Regions from separate parts of the Homo sapiens genome. Here region 1 is linked to region 2. The links are contacts of gene promoters, found by promoter capture Hi-C in human tissues and cell types (Jung and others, 2019). All regions are on one chromosome and are shown on one strand. The core of a region is centred on a gene start or on the middle of the fragment in contact, and the rest is flanking DNA. Distances in the headings are between cores, read along the strand shown.

Evidence for each region. Contacts are between HindIII fragments. The study calls those that stand out against the background at their distance.
Region 1: a fragment that was not itself captured here is called in contact with the fragment with the promoter of RSPO4 in region 2 in 4 of the 25 tissues and cell types used here (dorsolateral prefrontal cortex, mesendoderm cells, pancreas and 1 more).

What each region holds. Positions count from the first base shown.
Region 1 is chr20:1,078,488-1,084,477 of GRCh38, forward strand. No RefSeq gene overlaps it. Among named protein-coding and RNA genes, the nearest start is that of PSMF1, 37 kb to the right of the region's middle. The HindIII fragment of the contact is 3,614 bases long and covers 2,579-5,990 here.
Region 2 is chr20:997,839-1,003,560 of GRCh38, forward strand. It overlaps RSPO4 (R-spondin 4), which reads right to left and starts at 4,473. Exons shown (of 5, transcript NM_001029871.4): 1 at 4,248-4,473. The coding sequence starts at 4,326. The HindIII fragment of the contact is 18,767 bases long and covers 1-5,722 here.

The DNA of each region.
Region 1 (5,990 bases), core at 3,136-5,635, 81 kb after region 2:
CAAGGTGGCACAGGTGAGGCATCAAAAGCTAATAGTCCTGGCTGAAAATCAGGATGAGGAGGGCACAGGAGCTGCCAGCATGAAGCGATGACATGTAGGACTAGATGTTCTTCCTGTTCTGGGATTTTGTGAGCCTCTCAGGACTTAAACAAGCTGGTGGGGAAGAAAAGTCTTAAACTGACTGTGATTGCCACCTCAATCCCTACTCTTCTCTGTTCCCACCCAAATGAAGCCTTCTTCCCTAGGGCTTCCTTGGCCTCTGGAGTACAAAAACCTGATCTCAGCTCTCTGCAACCTCCGCCTCCCGGGTTCAAGCGATTCTCTCACCTCAGCCTCCCGAGTAGCTGGGATTACAGGTGCATGCCACCACACCTGGCTACTTTTTGTATTTTTAGTGGAGACAGGGTTTCACTATGTTGGCCAGGCTGGTCTCGAACTCCTGACCTCAAGTGATCTGCCTGCCTCAGCCTCCCAAAGTGCTGGGATTACAGGTGTGAGCCACTGTGCCCGACCTCTTTGGCCTCACTTTCTCACATCTTCCAGGTCTCTAAAAGAGTTACCTTCACAGGACACTTTCTCTGACCATTCTGTATAAAACAACACTCCTTCTCCATCACTACCTAGCCCTTCTCCTTGACTGATTTTTCTTCAGAGCTCTTATCACCACCTATGACATTCTATCATACATTTATTTGTTTATTTGGTTTTCATCTGTCGCTTTCATTGGTTTGCAACTTAAACTCCGTATTTTAATATGGGTTGAATTTGCAGAGATTTTTATCTGATGTGTCTATGGTTATATTTCTTCCTTTCTCCAAAAAAAATTCATGGAACATAGAGGCCCTTGATAAACATTTGTTGAATTAATTAATTAATTAATTAAGTCTCTGCTAGCTGCATGAATGGAAGCTTAAAAAATAAATGGTTTGTATAGGAAAAATAAAGAAAGATATTCACTGGAATTTGTACCTGGCTCATCTATATTTGGTGTTAAGATAGATTGATTTTTAAGTCTTGCTGTTTATAAGATCTGTCCTGGACTTGTTTCTAAGTTCCTATAATACCATGACACGTGTTAAGGATCCTAGAATTCCTGGCCTCAGTGGCTCTGGACAACTCACCCTAAAATATAAAGCCAGATCTTAATGACTCCAAGATGTACAGGATAAGCCAACGGCACCCGGCTTGATTTCACACAGCAGTTCCAGCTTGGGAGGATAAGTGAAAAGATTATCACAAGGAAATTGTTTACAGGGACAAGCAAGCTCCAGACATGGCCATCACCACCTCAGGGCCCTGGCTGGTTTTTGTTTCACATAAGCAGTTTTCTAAGCAAAGAGAAGGATAGAACCTGGCATGGTTTTGTAGGTTTATGTAGCTCCAGGGATGAAAGGGGGGCACCCACAGAGGTCAGGGATGTCTAAGTCATCAAGGAGAGGAAAGGCTCTGAGAACTTGGGCATCCCAAGAGGTGACAGGATGGTTCTGGCTTAGGGCCAACATAGCCACATGCCTACAGGGACCAGGCAAGTAGCCTGACCCCTGTGACTTAAACAAGCAGAGGTGGCCAGGTGGGGGCCAAAGCAGACAGGCCATCTATATCCCTTCTCAAGGGGGTAACTCTGACTAATTTTTGCTAAACAAGGATGAAAACCCAGTATAGCCAGATTTATTTTATTTTTCATTCAAAGTCAGAAATTCAGGTTTGCATGTGAAAGCTCCCAACTTTAAATGTTGGCATGAAAATCAGATTTTAGAAGCACTATTTTCCAGTTAATATTTCCATGTAACAAATCACCCCAGATTTAGTGACATCAAGCAACCATTTTATGATGTCCATGGATTCTTCGTGTCAAGTTTGGACAGGGCAAGTGGGGACGGCTTCACTCAGCTCCATGGTGTGTGGGGCTTCAGCTGGGAAGATTCAAATAGCTGGAGCTAGAATCATCGAGAGGCTTCTCTACTCAGATATCTGCTCTCTGGGCTGGGATGACTCAAAGGCTGGACTCGGCTGGGACTGTCCACTGGGGCACCTACACATGGCTTCTCCATGTGGTCTGAGCTTCCCACAGCATGGTGGCTGTGTTCTGAGACGAAGTGTCCTGAGCGTGGGAGCTGCAGATGAAAGCTGCATGGCCTTTTATGGCCTGGCTTCAGTTCCATAGTGTCACTTCTACCATACTCTACTGGTCAAGCAGCCACATACCCACCCAGATCCAAGGGAAGGGGAGCACAGACTTCACCTCTTGATGGAAGAGCATCAATGAATTTGCAGCCATTTATAAAAGCACCACACACTGTGTGGGCCACACCAAATGGGTCTGCAGGCTGGATTTGGCCAGAACATTGCTGGCAGCATCTCTGAAGGGTGGAAGTAGACTATGGCCCAGCTCACATAGTGAAGTGAGGTAGCAACATCCCCAGAATATGTATATGGGTATGGGGCCAAGACAGAGGGTGCCTGCCTGGGTGGGCTGCCACTGGAGCAAACGGCCATGTGGGACTGCTGGTCCAGACACCAGCATTCTGCCTGCTCACAGCCTTCCTCTCCCCTGACCACAGACATGGGCCCATCCCAAGCTACAGCCTGACCCCAAAACACATCTTCGCCATGGCTGAGTCATCCTCTTCCTCAGGGACCCAAAGCCCCAACCATGGTCCCTTCTTCTTCCTCTCTAGGAGGACATTTTTTTAAGTCCTTGCACCTAAAGGGCTGATCTCACTCTTTTTCTAGGTGCCATAGACTCAATGTGTCCATCCAAAATTCATATGTTGAAACCTAATCTCCAATGTGATGGTGTGTGGAAATGAGCCCTTTGGGAGATAAAGCCCTTATAAATGGGGTTAGTGCCCTTATGAAAGAGGTCCCAGGGAGATCTCTTGTCCCTTCTGCCATGTGAGGACACAGTAAGAAGACTATGAACAAGGAAGAAGGCCCTCACCAGACACCAAATCTGCCAGTGCCTTAATCTTGGGCTTCCAACCTCTAGAACTATGAGAAATAAATTTCTATTATTTATTTATAAGATAGCCAGTCTATGGTAGTTTGTTCAAGCAACATGAACAGACTAAGACACCAGGCAATCTGTCATAAGTGCCTCTGATGGGCCCAAGTGTTCCCAAGTTGGAAATACCTTCCTTACGCATCACTGTCTCAGAGGTGATCCCTAGAAGAGTGCACAGGAAAGAATATGCAAGGGAAACAAGGATAGCCAATGCACTTTTATGTAATACACACAATGACCCTGTGAAGCAATTATTCCAGTTTAAGAGATGAAAAAACTGAGTTTCACGGAAAATCCAAAACTTGCCAGGGACACCCAGGAAAATGGGTGGTTTCATACTAGGTGGAACTGGGGAATTGGCTTCAAAGTGCAAGTGAGCAGGACAAGAGAAGACCAGCTTGCTTAGACTGGAGGAGGTAGGTTAGGCAGAAGTGAGGTAGGCCAGGTGGGACCAAACGCTAAAGAGCCCTGCAAGTGCCACAAAGTGTCATGAACTTAATGAGTCAGGCAGTAGGGAACCATTCAAGGTTCTCGAGCTGAGGGATAACTTCACTAATTATGGCCAATGATGATGCAAGCAATTTCTTACAGAGTGCTTTATTTTGCAGATCTCCTTTTCCATGCGTTTCCTCATTTGTTTCCCACCTGTGTGGTTAGGCTCCCCATTTGCCATATGAGCAAAGTAAGAGTCCCAGAAGTTACAATATGACAAAATTACTACTAGCAAAGCCAACACAGGATGCAAGCCTCCTCCCTCCACACCCCAGTGAAGGGCAGTGGGGACTGCACGATACAGTGGGCATCTGCCATTCATTCTGGCCACCTAGCATCATTCTCCTTCAGCCCTTCGTTCCCTTTAGGGAACTCTCCCCCTACCTCTCCAAATGATTTTAATGGGGCTGTCAATCATGTGGTCCTATGCAAGAGTGAGCACCAGGCCAGGCTGACCAATTAGAGTCCTTCTCAGGGATTGACATGGATGCTCGGGGAAAGACAGTCTCAGGTTTTCTCTAGGGTTGCCAATGGCAATGAACCTCTGACAACTATCCTTTTGTCATATGGGGAATATCTGCTTGAGAATGACGTGAACAAACAAGACACCCAAGCTGAGAGATAAAGGTAGGAAGAGTGCACCTAGGACACCAATAAGATCCTACAGATTCAGCCATGTCTGGGTTTCTCAGTTTTGAAAAACACTTTGATTGGTTTTGTCACACGCACCTGAATCAGCCCTTGGACCTAAGCTTTATTTAGAAGTAAAATGGACTTGGGCTCTCTGTAAACCACAATTTCTTCATTTATCAAATAATAATAATCGGCTGGGCATGGTGGCTCACTCCTGTAATCCCAGCACTTTGGGAGCCCTAGGTGGGCAGATCATTTGAGGTCAGGATTTCAAGACCAGCTTAGGCAACATGGTGAAACCCCATCTCTACTAAAAATACAAAACTTAGCTGGGCATGGTGGTGCGTGCCTGTAGTCCCAGCTACTCAGGAGGCTGAGGCACAAGAATCACTTGAACCCAGGAGGCAGAGGCTGCAGTGAGCCGAGATCACGCCACTGCACTCTGGCCTGGGTGACAGAGTGAGACCCTGTCTCAAAAAAAAAAAAAAGAAAAAAATGAGAGAATAATCAAAATAGCAACTTAGCAACTTAGAGAGTTTCTGGAGAATTAAATATACTTCATAAACTGTGAGGTACCAAGAAAAGAAAAGAAAACTGTATTGAGGGACATGAAGGCCTAAGTAAATGGTGAAATATGGCAAATTCATGGATGAGATGTCTCAATATTATAAATATGATCATTTTCTTCGCTATTTAATTTACAATATAATCCAATTTTAGACAAAACTAAATTAATGAACAATGCAAATTAGGCAGTATTTTAAAACAGGGTGGCTATTTTCAAAATGACAGTGTTAATATTTTTAAGTTGAGGTGCCATTATGCTGAGATAGCTCCAGTGCTTTGGGTTCCTATGTAAGCAAATCAAAGCCTAATGTAAACCGTAAAATGATCCTGGAGACTTAGCTAATTTGAAACCGCCAACTAACCTCTAGGGACTTTCCACCAGATCGTGCCCAAATAAGGCAAACACCTACTTGTAGCCAGTCAAGCAATGTCTTTGCTTTGCTTCCACATTCACCCTATAAAAGCCTGCAGCTCAACTGCTAAAGTGGAGCTCTCTGAACCTCTTCTAGCTCTGAGTACTGCCCAATTCATGAATCACTTTTTTGCCCAAATAAACTCTGCTAAATTTAATTTGTCTAAAGTTTTTCTTTTAACAACAGAATGGACCGTATTTTTAGTTCCCAAAGCTCTCTCTTGCTCCCTATAAGAGAATTATACTTCCTGTGCCATTGACATCAGGCCTGGACATGTGACTTACTTTGGCCAATGATATATGACCTGAGTGAGGTAATGCCACTTCTAAGCAGAAGCCTTAAGAGCCACCACGTTTCCACTGTGGCTTTTCTCTGCCTTCCACCAGAATAGTGTATTCCAAATAGGGTTGTTTTATCAGCTGGGTCCCAGGAAGAAGAGGATTTGGCCAGAGCTGCAGCCAGTCCTGAGTGTAAGGTGAATAAGAAATAAATATTTGTTGTTGTAAGCCAGGGAGATTTGACGGTTATTAGTTATGCCAGCATAACTTAGGGAAACTGACTAACACAGAAGTATAACCTAATGAATTGACAAAATGCTGCCATTTTTATGCTTCATTAAAACATAAATGAAAACTTTTTGTAAAATAGTACCTAGATGCTTTACATTGGTTTCTCATTGTTCTGCTAAACATGAGCATTCCCAAAAATGTTTACAATAATTTATATTTTTAAAAAAGCATTTTGTGAGCAAAACAAGCTTGGGGAAATGCTGCAGGTCACTGTCTTTCTCATGAGATTCATCCCTCATATTAGCATATTAAAGTCTCTGCAAAGTCCTACAGTAAAGAAACCTTTACTAACTCAGTATTTCTTGAAGTTAT
Region 2 (5,722 bases), core at 3,223-5,722:
GTTTGCTCCGGATGCACCACAAGCAAGAGGCAGAGGTGAGCTTAACCCACGTGAGACCCCACTCCCTTCCGGTCCAGGGCATGTCTGCTCTGCTGTAAAATGGGAAGGGAAAGTGGTCAAATCCTTATGAAGCCCCTACTGTGTGCCTTTGGCCCCCTTCCCTCTTGGACTGCAGTAAATCTTCCCAATTGCTCAGAGAGGTAGGTGTAAGTTTTCCCATTTCACAGATGGGGAAGCACGGACGGGAGAAGGCATGTGGCCTGCTTAATGTCACATATCTAGGGCAGGAGAGGGCTCAAGGTTTGATCCCAGGGCTCTTCACTTTGCCCCTTGCTTGCTCAGGTCTAGAAAGATCCAGAAGCTCCATGTGAATGTGGGGGTCCCTCCCCAGAAGGCCTTGGATGTCAGGGAAAGTCAGTCACAGGCTGGCATCTCCTCCTTGCCCAAATGGACCTCCAGATCTAGGGATGCGAACCAGGGCCCCCTCACTCTGCCCTACTGTCCCATTGCCAGGACACCCCAGCATGTTTCAAAAAAATGTCCCCATCTGGTTCTGATTCATTTACACTTCATTAATCAACATGCTGTTTTGTAAGAGACACTTGAGATCCAAGAATCTTTCTCAAGTCTTTTACTTCATTCTTTCTTAGAAACAGAAAAATTGGGCTTCATTAAGACGCAGTGACGCCGGAGCCTGAGGAAGGATGGGCCTGTGGGAACCAGGCCTCAAGCAGGCTCAGAGAGGGCAGATGCCAGCCCAGCACCTCATTCCTCGGGATTGTGCAGACCTGGCCAAACGCTAAGGCCAAAGACTCAGGCATGGGGGAGGCTGGAGAAAGGTGGGAAAGGGTCATCCCTCTATGTTGGCAGCTCCCCAAGGACAGGCCCAGGGCTGCTCACCTGGGTATCTCCAAGGTCCCCAACACAGAGCCTGGCACAGAGGCTGCCCTGTGAAATGAACAAGTGAATGAATGAAGCACTGCCAATACCCAGGTGTTTTCAGGACACATTCTCCTGCCAAAGTTAGATAAGGTCAAAGCTGGTAGGACCCTGAGGGATTGTGTACAGAATTTTCCAAGCAGATGCCTTATGAGAAATGGTCTCTGATGTGTAATATGTTTGGGAAAGGTCACTCTCTCTCGCTCTCTTTTTTTTTTTTTTTTTTTGAGACAGGGTCTGCTCTGTCGCCCAGGCTGGGGTGCAGTGGCACAATCACGGCTCACTGCAGCCTTGATGTCTTTCCTGGGCTGAAGCGATCCTCCCACTTCGGCTTCCTAAGTAGCTGGGACTACAGGTGTGCACCACCACCAACATGCCTGGCTATTTTTTGTATTTTTTTATAGAGACAAAAAATGTATTTTTTGTAGAGTTTTGCCATGTTGCCCAGGCTGGTCTCGAACTCCTGAGCTCAAGCTATCCTCCCATCTTGGCCTCCCAAAGTGCCAGGATTATAGGCTTGAGCCATCGCACCTGGGTTACACTGTCTGTCTCCACCTCTTCAGCATGCTCTGATAAGTCTCACAGCCAAGAAATCTGCTAAACCCAGCATTTCCCAATCTATTTGACCAGAACTCCTGTGGCTGCCTTGCAAAATATGCTACAGGAAGGGTTTATCTAGCTCTGGTCCCCACTGCAGTGCCAGTGGGAAACTGAGGCTATGGGCGGGGGACAGAGAAAATCCACTCACCCAAGGTCACATGATACAACTGGGTCAGGGGTGTGACTGAAATCCAAGGCTATCTCCATTGTACCCCAACAAATAAATGGAGCCCTAAGCCTCTTCTGAAGATGCTAGGCAGGTGTGTGTCCCAGAGGCAAGAGATCAGGTACTGGAGGAGGGATGCTGAGAGCCCCTCACCAAATTGCGGCCATATCCCTACCTCCTCACTGAGCTCCTGGGGAGGTGGTGGTGAGCTGTAGATGGGGCGGGGGGCAAAAGGGGCAGGATAGGAATTTTTCATTTTTCTTTAATTTTTTTGTCTTTTTTGAGCTGAGAAGCATCTTAAAGTCTTCTAAACCAGCTCCTTTTTGTTGTTGTTGTTGTTGTTGAGACAGAGTCTCACTCTGACACCCAGGCTGGAGTGCAGTGGCATGATCTCGGCTCACTGCAACCTCTGCCTCCTGGGTTCAAGCGACTCTCCTGCCTCAGCCTCCCAAGTAGCTGGAATTACAGGCGCCCGCCACCACACCCAGCTAATCATTGTATTTTTAGTAAAGACAGGGTTTCATCATGTTAGCCAGGCTGGTCTCAAACTCCTGATCTCAAATGATCCGCCTGCCTTGGCCTCCCAAAGTGCTGGTATTACAGGCGTGAGCCACCACACCTGGCCTAAACCAGCTCCTCTTTAGATGAGGAAACTGAGGCTCTGAGAAGGGAAGACCAGCACACCTCAGAAGATATCTTCTCAGCATTATGTCAGGCAGATTGGGATTCGAGCCTGCTTTGCTACTCACCTGCTGTGCGACCTTGGACAAGTCAGTTTCCTTCTCTGAACCTCAGTTCCCTCATCCAGAAAACAAGCATCTCTCCCCTCCCTCCACTAAGCCACTGTGAGTAGCCAAAGACACAGTGGACAGGAAATGAGAATGATTAATACTTACGAGCACCCATTAGGAGCCTGTGTCCTTAGCTACTCATCTTGCCCACAATCCTCCTTATGAGCAGGATACTTAAGTAAAAGATGGGTTGATGAAGGGAAAGGGGGTTTGTTTGATTTTTTGGTATTGTTTAGAATGGAGAAAGATCTCAGAGATCTTCTAAAGGACCCTCAGATGGGTAAAGTGAGGATTGGACAGGCAAAGTGACTTATCCAAAGTCACTCAGTTGGTAACTGGGGAAGCTGGGATTTGAACTCAGTTGACCTGGCTCCAGAGCCCATGCCCCTAACTACTAAACAAAGGCCATTCACAAAGGAGTGTCCCCATAGAGTCCCAAACTCACCCCAGCTCAGCTGAAAACCACACGCCTCTCTAGTCCCTTGTCCCACTGTCACAGCAAGAACTGGAGCCTCTTGGGCCACAGTCTCCCCAACCCCATCCAATCCCACCTCCCAATTCTCCCACAGCCTCTGTCTGCTTCCTGCTCCGTTCCAGGAGTGACTGTGTCGCTGTAGGGCTTTCACACAAATGGAAGGCCCCAGAGGGCAACCCATCCTCTCTCATTTTCCTTCCCCTTTATCCTTGCTCAGACCCGATGCCAGGGCTGGAAAGAGAGAAGACACCAGCTGGACAATTCAGCAGTTATTTAAACCAGTCTGAGCCTTGGAATCCCAGGCTTTATTAAAACTGGACGACCCCTATGTCATGAGCATATAGTTGGGATTTGATGAGCTAGGACATGAAAAACCCGTGGCATAGTGGCTGGCATTCGGCTGCTGATCTTAAGAGTGGCACCTGGAGGCCAAAGGGCTGCCCAGCTCAGGCAGGCGATTTGCTCACTTGCTCACCCGCTTACCCTTCTCTGAGGCACAGGCTCTACCAACTCCTGCTCTGCAGGGACAGCCTCCAACCCACCTTCTGAGGATGTTCTGACTCTCACAGCGAGGCTGTGGCATAGGACTCCCAGGTGAGAGCGCATGCGGCCCCTGGTACATTTATAATCTGAACCTTGGCTCATCTTCCTAGTGGCCTGAGAGGTGAAGATGGAAAAGCTGAGGCTCTCTGAGGGGCTGGACTTCTTCTAGGTCATCCCCTATTAGAATAAGTGAACCTGAACTCAGGTCTCAGGTCTGGCTGAACTCAACATAGGGGGGCCATGGAGGATCACTGCCCTCTGGGAGGTGACACCAGGAGTCAGGGTGAGTGATGAGGCTGGGACTGGGGCCTCTGGACGCCCAGCCCAAGGCTCTCTATGTCACTTCCTGGCCGAGCATGGATGCTTGGAATGGCTTCTACGCCACTGAGTCTGTCTCCTAGTCCCTGTGCCCCGCAGGCTGGCTCTTGAGTCTTCTGTCTCTGCACGAAGCCATCCTCCTTTCTGCTGACCATGCGGCTACTACAGAGAGCCCTGCTACCCTCTCCCTTCTGGGTGAGTCTCCTTGGCCCACCCTACTCAATGGCTCGCTCACTGGGTGCCCTGGAGCCTCAATCTCCCCATCTTAAGTGAGGTTGAGACTCGTCTGGAGGAGCGAAGGACCCAGGGCGCCAGGCACCAGGCAGATGCCCCCAGAGCCGCCGCCCCCGGTCCTCCGGCCCCCGGTCTGCCCCGCAGCGCCTGCCCGGCCGCCCTGCCCAGCCACCCCTTGTACCTTGCTTCTTCCTTCGGTTCAGGGCGAGCATGTCCACGGCGTGGGCGACGAGCAGGAGCAGGCAGAGTGGCGCCCGCATCTGGGCAGCCGGATCCGGGCTGGCGCTCCCCAGGCGGCCCGACGGCCCAAGGGCCCCACGTCCCGGCGGCGGCACGGCGGGCGCGGGGGCTGCTGTGGGCGCGCCGGGCGCATCCGCCAGGCGCGGGTCGGTCCGGCCGCCAGGTCTAGTGAGGGCGTTGGCGGAGCCGGGGCACTGCCCTGGCGGGGAGGAGCCGGCGCGGCGGGGGCGGCGCGTTAACCAGCTCGGGGCCCGGGAGCGCGCGCGGGGAGGGGGCGGGGGTCACCCGGGTCGGGGCCCTCGAGTTCGATCTGTCCCGCAGCCGGCGGTCTTGCGTCTTTCCCGCCCCCAGCACTGCCCCCGAGCACGTGCACGTGCCCACCGCCAGCCACAGGTACGCACGCGCGCGCAGGTACAGATGCGCGGACACCCGGAGACCCGTACGGTCCCCCGCGCCCTCTCAGCGCCTGTGATTTTCTTTCCCTCCCCCCAGTCCCCTTTCTCTGTCTGTTCCTCCTTCTGGCCCTTAAGGACAACTCCTTGTCTCCTGCTTTCTCGGTCTTTCCGCGGCCCGCGCTCCCCTGCTCTGCCCCCGACCCTGCCTGGCTGTTCCTGCATCCTTTACTCTTGCCGGCCGTCTCTCTCTCAGGCTCACTGTCTGTGTCCTCCTGGCTGGGCCTCTGGTTCTCCCTTTTCTCTGTCTCTCCCTTCAACCCCATCTCTCCCCTTCTCCCCTCCTGCAGGGTGGGGTGTTTGCGGGGCTCCTGCTGCCTGGCTTTCTCTTTTTCTCTCTACTCTGTCTCATTCTTTTAACAGAGGCCTGAGCCCCTTCTGGCCACTAACCCTGAATGTTTCCTGTGCAGTCTGCGGGGATCATCTACTCCGACTCAAAGTGACCAGCACCTCATAAATCCACTTGTGACAGGGCTGGGGACCTGGACTGTGTTTCCTCCAACCTTATCACCAGGACTGGGAGCAGCTGGTTCAAGTTTAACCCTTTCAGAGCAAAATTCCTCCTTCAACCCGACAGCATGCTCACCTCTCCTGTCACTATAACCACCAAAAACAACAACAATCATGCTAGCTATCATTTGTGAGGCATATATGGTGGGCATTGCTAAGAACTTGACATATACTAGAGTCTTCAAAACAACCCAATGGTTTGGGTTTGTATTCTGAGTAATTCCACTTTTCTGGGGAGCAAAGGGAAGCTCAGAGAGGCCAAGTGACTTGCCCAAGGCCACACAGCAGGTCAGTGGCCATTCTGGTCCAGTGCCTGCCCCTCTTAGCCACTTCTCAGGCACAGACTCATCAGAATGGAAGAGGCCTTGGAGGGAGGCCTAGAGAAACTTACAGTTGACACTCTCTTGCTGAACAATTGTCCTTCCTTTTTCTTTTCTTTTTTTTTTCTTTTTTT